Regions from separate parts of the Homo sapiens genome. Here region 1 is linked to region 2. The links are contacts of gene promoters, found by promoter capture Hi-C in human tissues and cell types (Jung and others, 2019). All regions are on one chromosome and are shown on one strand. The core of a region is centred on a gene start or on the middle of the fragment in contact, and the rest is flanking DNA. Distances in the headings are between cores, read along the strand shown. Region 1 overlaps VAMP4 (vesicle associated membrane protein 4). Region 2 holds the start of C1orf105 (chromosome 1 open reading frame 105).

Region 1 (3,523 bases), core at 831-3,330, 680 kb after region 2:
CTATGGTTCCAGCTATTCAAGAGGCTAAGGCAGGAGGATCACCTGAGCCTGGGAGATGAAGGCTGTGGTGAACTGTGATCTGCACTCCAGCCTGAGCAACAGAGCAAGACCCTGTCTCAAAAATTAATTAACTAATAATAATAACAACAGAAAAATCAAAAGCTTATGACTATATTCTAATCCTAATTGTTTTCTTCATAGCAAATGTATTTAAAAACATGTTACTTAGATTGGTGACAACTGAATTCTACTTCCATTATTGATCAAATCATTATTCTCATAGCTTCTTTCTAGTTTTTGAAAGGGAGTTTTATACAAATACACAATATCTTATTCAGAACTTTGAATGTATTTGGAATTTTTCAGATTTTAGAAAGTTAAGAACATATTATGTAACAGCATTTTTGGGGCCTGGACCAGTGCCTCCAAAAATATTAATATTTCTCAGTGAAGTCTATATTTAGTTATATCTAACTAACTATGTAAATAAAGTGTGTAAATAAACTAGCTAACATCAGTTCAGGTCAAATTTTCCTCCAAAACTTTTTGATTTTCAGAAGCTTTTAGATTTTGGAATTGCAAATAAAGGTCCCCAGACCTGTAATTATCTTATGTTCCAGAGTATCTTTTATATAATGCTTCAATTTCTAGTTTATTCCAGAACATTCTATGCAAATATATATAAATCTAGAAATTATGCCGCATTTAAAAGACAACATTTTATATGAATGTTGTAGGCAGATTACTTTTAGAATAAGTACTCAATACATATTTATTGGGGGAAATAATTCACGTTCTTATTTTTTTAATGCACCATTCTGAAGCCCTCCTTCCTTTCCTTCTTGTCTTGATTCATTCAACAAATATGTATTGACCACCTCCTATGTGCTAGGCACTGGGCTAAAAATTGGAAGACATAGTCTGTGCCCTTGCAAAGCTTTTAGTCTGCTTTGTTTTACATGCTCTTTTTGGACAACCTCAGAACTTCATATTATCCACTCTGTCCACCATCTTATGACTTTTAGTCATAAGTTTCTTTTAGTACAACACAGGAAACATTTTCTTCCCCTTATTCTAACCCTTTGTACAGCTTTTGCGGTTTTGTGTGTTTCTGATGGTTTGTTTTTATTTTTTGAGACCAGGGTCTCGCTCTGTCATTGAGGCTGAAGTGCAGTGGTGCAATCACAGCTCACTGCAGCCTCCACCTTTTGGGCCCAAGCTATCCTCCCACCCCAGCCTCCTGAGTAGCAAAGACTACAGGTGCATGATATCATGCCCAGCTAGTTTTTGTTTTTCTCGTAAAGATGGGGTTTTGCCGTGTTGCCCAGGCTGGTCTCAAATTCCTGAGCTCAAGTAATCCACCTGCCTTGGCCTCCCAAAGTGCTGGGATTACAGACATTTGACACTGCACTCGGCCTGTTTTGTTTTGTTTTGTTTTGTTTTGTTTTGTTTTGTTTTGTTTTTTAATGGGGAAATAGAATCCACCAATAGATTAATTGCTAGCAAGCTTTTACTAATAAACTTTAAGGAGTCACCAATGATTTCCATGTTGCCAAATCCAGTTACTCCTTCTTTGCCATAATTTCAACTGCTTACTAGCATTTGGTGCAGTTTCAACCATTTTGGTCACCTATCTTTTCCTCCATGCCATGGTGAAACTCTTAGTGTCTGCTTGAGCTAGTTCCCCATGCAAGGAATTGAGAAATGCCTTGAAATATACCAAGTCTGGGTGAACCCGGAAGGCTCTGGCCGAGAGAAGGCAGAGGATGATCAGGGATTGAGAAATCACTCAGGGATAATCCAGGGTCTCTTTCTTTAATGTAATATCTTTCAAGATAAACCTCCAAGAAAAAGTGATTCAGAAAATTTGATATACCTGTGCTGGAATTCCATACACTGAAGATTTACTATCAAAAGCATGTCTTGGCCAGGCGTGGTGGCTCGCGCCTGTAATCCCAGCACTTTGGGAGGCCGAGGCGGGCAGATCACTTGAGGTCAGGAATTCAAGACCAGTCTGGCCAACATAGTGAAACCCCATCTCTAGCAGAAGTACAAAAATTAGCCAGGTGCGGTGGTGCACACCTGTAATCCCAGCTACCTGGGAGGCTGAGGCAGGAGAATTGCTTGAATCTGGGAGGCAGAGGTTGCAGTGAGCCGAGATTGTGCCATTGCACTCCAGCTTGGGTGACAGAGTGAAATTCCATCTCAGAAAGAAAAAAAAAGCATGTCTTTACAAAGCAGAAGGTTTGGCGAAATACTAAACCCATTCAGAGAATAAATGTCAATTTGTTAAAGTAAATGATACCAATTGTGAACCTATAAAGGAACCCAGTGTAAAACAACACAGACTTGATATGCATCCAGTAAAAGCTGACTGAAAGCTCCTGATGAATATTCAGTGATCAGCGTGCACAAAGCATGCTGAAATATTTTTTAAATCATCGGTTAGAAGAATCTGAGCCTCTTTCCTATTGCCCCAAGGAAATCTTTAGTCACTTACCCAGAGATGCTTGCAAAGCATTAATATCCTGGAAGATGATCAATAAATGCTGACAGTTGATTGACTGATATCTGAGATATGTCAGGTAAATACCTCAGTCCTGGACAGAGAGCCCCTAAGTCACATCTGCCTTTGTGTAAGATGAAGACTGAAGTATGGAAATGTATGTAGTAAAATCACCTCTCGGAACTTGTTTGTAATTCATACAATCTATGTCAATTTTGAAAAATGTATGTAAAGCAGAGAAGGTTGTAGCCAAATTCAATGTATAGTATGCAAGAGTATATTATTTAATAATTTTTAATTGATGCAAATCCCATTAATTTTATAGTTTTATTTTTACATGATTTTAAACTGAAACTATTTATATTTCCTAAGTTCCCCTGTGTTTCTTTCTCACAATCACTGCTGAACGTAAATTTGTTGTTCACTTAATGGAATCACTGTTAAGGACACAGTCACTTGAATATGATTGCTTTTTAAAAATCAAGTCCAGGCGTGATATACTAGGATCACAGTTTCATGGCATGTTGGTCATAATCCTGAGAAAATAGTGACAAAATTATTATTTGTAGATATTAAATACCAGTTTAATAATATGTGTGGAAATCAGATTAAATAGTACATAAAGCCCACCCTAATAACAAGGGCAGGAAAAATTACTTCAAGAAAAACAATAGTAAACCTTAAATTAAAAATAATACAAATAAATAAGCTTTATGAATACATTTTTAAATTTAAAATGTATTGTCTCAATAAATTCCACTGCTGAGACTGTAATTGTATCACTTTCTCCTTATATTCTTCATTGATTATTAGTATATTAGACACCAGAACTGAATAAAATTGACTGTTTCAAGAGAACTCCTTTTTGATGTTTATTATATTATGAAGTTTGATAACTGATTGGTTAGAATAATATATAAATTACTTTTAAAATCTTTTAAAAGTTTTGTTCCTCTTTCCTATTATACTTTTTTGGTAATAGCTTTATTGAGATAAAAGTCACGTACCATACAATTC
Region 2 (3,475 bases), core at 716-3,215:
TAAGCTGGTACCTAAGCTCAAGACGGAGTCCCCTTTATTCTTCCCTCTGTTCTTCTCAAGCAGAAGTGGTCTCTCCTCGTAGCCACCAGACCTGTGAATGTGCTGGGTCACATCTGAAGCCAGTGCATTTCGGAGTTTCAGCTGAGGCCCACGGTATGTAGTACTTGGCTACTGCTACTGATTTTTCAGGGTCCAAAGGCTCTTTATTCAGCATGTGATGAAATCTGCCAAGACTGGGTCCTTCCCTTCAAGGCAGTTCCCTTTTGGCCCAGGGTATATCTAGAAATGTCATCCAAGAGCTAGGGCCTGCAATGAGTGCCTCAGGATTTTGCCCAGTACCCTATCCTACTCTGGCTGAACTGGTATCCAAGTTGCAAGACAAAGTCCTTTTCACTCTTCCCTCTTCTCTCCTCAAGCAAAGGAAGGAGTCCCTTTTGGAGCCATAAGCTGTGTTGCCTGGGGTTGGGGGAGGGGTGCTGTAAGCACTTACTTAGCCATCCTGGCTGGTGTCTTACTAGATCGTGCGCTCCCCAGTCCACTGGCTCAGAGCCCAGCACAGCACTAGGACTTGCCTGGGTATTGCAGTTGTTGTGGCCCAGACAGGCTTTCAAGTTTATTTAGGACCTCAGAGCACTTTAGCCCATGGTGGTGGAGGTAGTCAAAACTCAGTTTCTGAAACCTGGGATGGGCAATTCTCCTCTGGCTAAGGGTGGTCTAAATGGTCCCTCCATTGGCAACAGCTAAGTTCTGCCCCGTATTGGCAGCACTGAATTCTAGAGTCCCACAATCGCTGTGCCCTCCCTCCAAGTGCACAGATTCTCTCTCCACACTATGTGGCTGCTGCCAGGGGATGGGGGAGGGGTGGTGTCAGCAATTCAAGATTGTCTTTCTTATCTTCCTCAGTGCTTCTTTCAACAATACGAAGTTAAAACCAGGTACTGTGATCACTTTGTGATCACTGATTTTTGGTTCTTATGAAGGTGCTTTTTTGTGTAGATAGTTGTTAAATTTGATGTTCGTGCATGGAGAACAATCAGTGAAGGCTTCTGTTTGGCCATCTTGCTCTGCGTCCTCCCCAACTTAGGATTTTTTTACTTTATCATGGGTTCATCAGGGTATTGCATGCATTTTTGACTTACAATATTTTCAACTTGTGGTGGTTTATTGAGATGTAACCCTATCATAAGTCAAGGAGCACCTGTACTATGGTAATAGAGACAGCTAGTATATCCCTTTAAATAGGAAACATACAGTGTCATAAGCTCAATGTGATTTATTCAGATTTAGACCCTAGTAATTATAAAAGTCTATACAAGTTTTTTTTTCTTTCTCAGCAATCTTAACTTCCTGTGACTGAGATTCATTGTTTTAAAGTGCATTCACAGTTGAGAAGGTTTACTTCAGAATCTCAGGGAACTGCACTAAAGAATCTGGTATCAATTTTCTGAGGATTTAAAAAAATCATACTTAAATGCTGAGTTATAAAAGATGTTGGCAAGTACAACATTTTTTCCAAACTATACGATAAAGAGCATTGAAATTTATCATGCCCCAAACCCATTAAAATTATCTTCACCTGTAACTGAACATCAGCTGTTATTTCCTTACCTTCTTTTGGCTTTCAACTTCTAGGATGTCTGTTGAAACACCCCTCAATGTTTATGTGGCCTCCAAGGCATACAAACATTTACCAGGGTAACCCCATAAGGAAAGAATTGGAAGTTTCATTTATTTTTTTCCTACCTTTAGTTCTCTTTTTTCCATCTTTCAGATCTTTAGATGTTCTGAGTTTTTCTAGCTGGAGACTGGGGAAACCTAGCTCCCCTCACTGTGGCCAGTGGAAGACTGCTGTGGAGAACCTGAATCCAAAGTGTTTTTTGTTAGGAGACGAAGTAAACAGGCCAGTTTACAGTTTCAATACCAGTATGCCTTTTTCTCTACCAACATCTGTGTGATTTACATCTTGAATCATATAATTCCATTCAGAATGAAAAGCTCAGTTTCTGATTGGCTGAAATGAGTTCTAGTATTCCTTTCTTTGTTAGAAGTCAAAATCACAATGTTCTGGAACATTAGCATGTGTTGGGTAAAGTTGATAACAGTATACTAAAACTCAGATAGCTGCTTCAGTACTGAAGTCAGAACAGTTCTCCCTGGAAAGACAACCAAACTTTTCTCTTATTGTAGCACTACATTGTAATTGCTTATTTAGCTATTTTGTAAGCTACTTTTATTCTGTTACTTCTCTGGTATTCCCAGGGTCCAGGACATTATCATGAATTCAAGAAATGTTTGATGCATAAATAAAGGAATGAAAATATATAAGGAATATTATGTTTACTAAAGGCATAATAGTTTGGCTCTTCCTGACTATCCTGAGTTATGATCAACTCTGAAAAAGGGAGTAATTTTTCAAGTCTATTAAACATAGCAGGGTGGAGGTGGAGGTAAGAAGAGTTGGGGAAAGGTATATTATGAAACATAGAAATACTATTTACTAAATACATATTAACAAATCTTAGCATAATTTAATTTTACTCCAGGCTGCCCCCCATCCCTTTCCCCTGCCCTCTTTTTTCTTGCCTATAGAATGTAAGGAAGGGAACACACTTCTTTGTTAAGGAAAACTGAGTAAGGTTGTCATTTCATTCTGTTATGACTGGAGTTTTTCCTTCTCATCATTCATCAGGTCAATTTAAGTTTTATACATCTAAACTGTGTAACACTGCATATAAAAATAAGTCCATGTTTAAGACAAAGTGGAAAAGTACCAAACACTTTTAAAAAATGAATTGAAGAAAACCTTCTCTTTGACAACTTCGGTTTTCATTTGGGGAGGTGGTATGAAATCATCTAGGTACATTTTTGTCTATTGGGATGAAGAATGCTATCCACTAAGAATATTGATTTAAAAATCAAATGCCTGGACTGGAGGGGAAGGAAAGGACAAAAGACTGCATGCTATGTGCTATTTTACATCAAGTCACCTCCTTCCTGCTATACATGAGCTTCAGTTGATGCCTTGGTTTGGAGCCTTTGAACTTTCTTAGTTATCACTGATTTTAAATGGTAGTCACTGGACCGGGGATACAATTAAAATAATGTAACATGCCATATGAACATTTTAAACCAAGAAACTGATTTTTCATTTTTGAGTGGAGAACTCAGTCCTTAAAAAAATTTGTGGTCCGAAGAAACAGCATTACTAATGAGGACTCTCCCTTTTACAACTGGGGGTTCCTGCCCACATCTTCCAAATACCTCCTTTGCCAGGGCTTGCCTAGGTCAGATGTGAAGTAAATAGAACTGATGAATGATTTTTTTGACTCTCTTGTCATGTAGTTTTCTGTCATCTTAATATGCTGAAGGGGAGCACATTCAGAAGTGATCTCATTTGAGAAGGACTACTTTCAAGTTCTATTTTAGGCCACATAAATTTTCAAAAAATAAAATTCTGAATTAAATCTTAAACCTT

The links. The method cuts DNA at HindIII sites, captures the fragments that hold promoters and counts their contacts. A contact is called where the count stands out against the background at its distance.
Region 1: a fragment that was not itself captured here is called in contact with the fragment with the promoter of C1orf105 in region 2 in 1 of the 25 tissues and cell types used here (mesenchymal stem cells).

What each region holds. Positions count from the first base shown.
Region 1 is chr1:171,734,589-171,738,111 of GRCh38, reverse strand. All of the region lies in intron 2 of VAMP4 (vesicle associated membrane protein 4), which reads left to right. Among named protein-coding and RNA genes, the nearest start is that of VAMP4, 5.7 kb to the left of the region's middle. The HindIII fragment of the contact is 4,216 bases long and covers 1-3,523 here.
Region 2 is chr1:172,419,175-172,422,649 of GRCh38, reverse strand. C1orf105 (chromosome 1 open reading frame 105) reads right to left here and starts at 1,965. Exons shown (of 7, transcript NM_139240.4): 1 at 1,744-1,965. The coding sequence starts at 1,764. LOC102724528 (a long non-coding RNA gene) reads left to right here. Exons shown (of 3, transcript XR_001738294.3): 1 at 1-153. The HindIII fragment of the contact is 11,853 bases long and covers 1-3,475 here.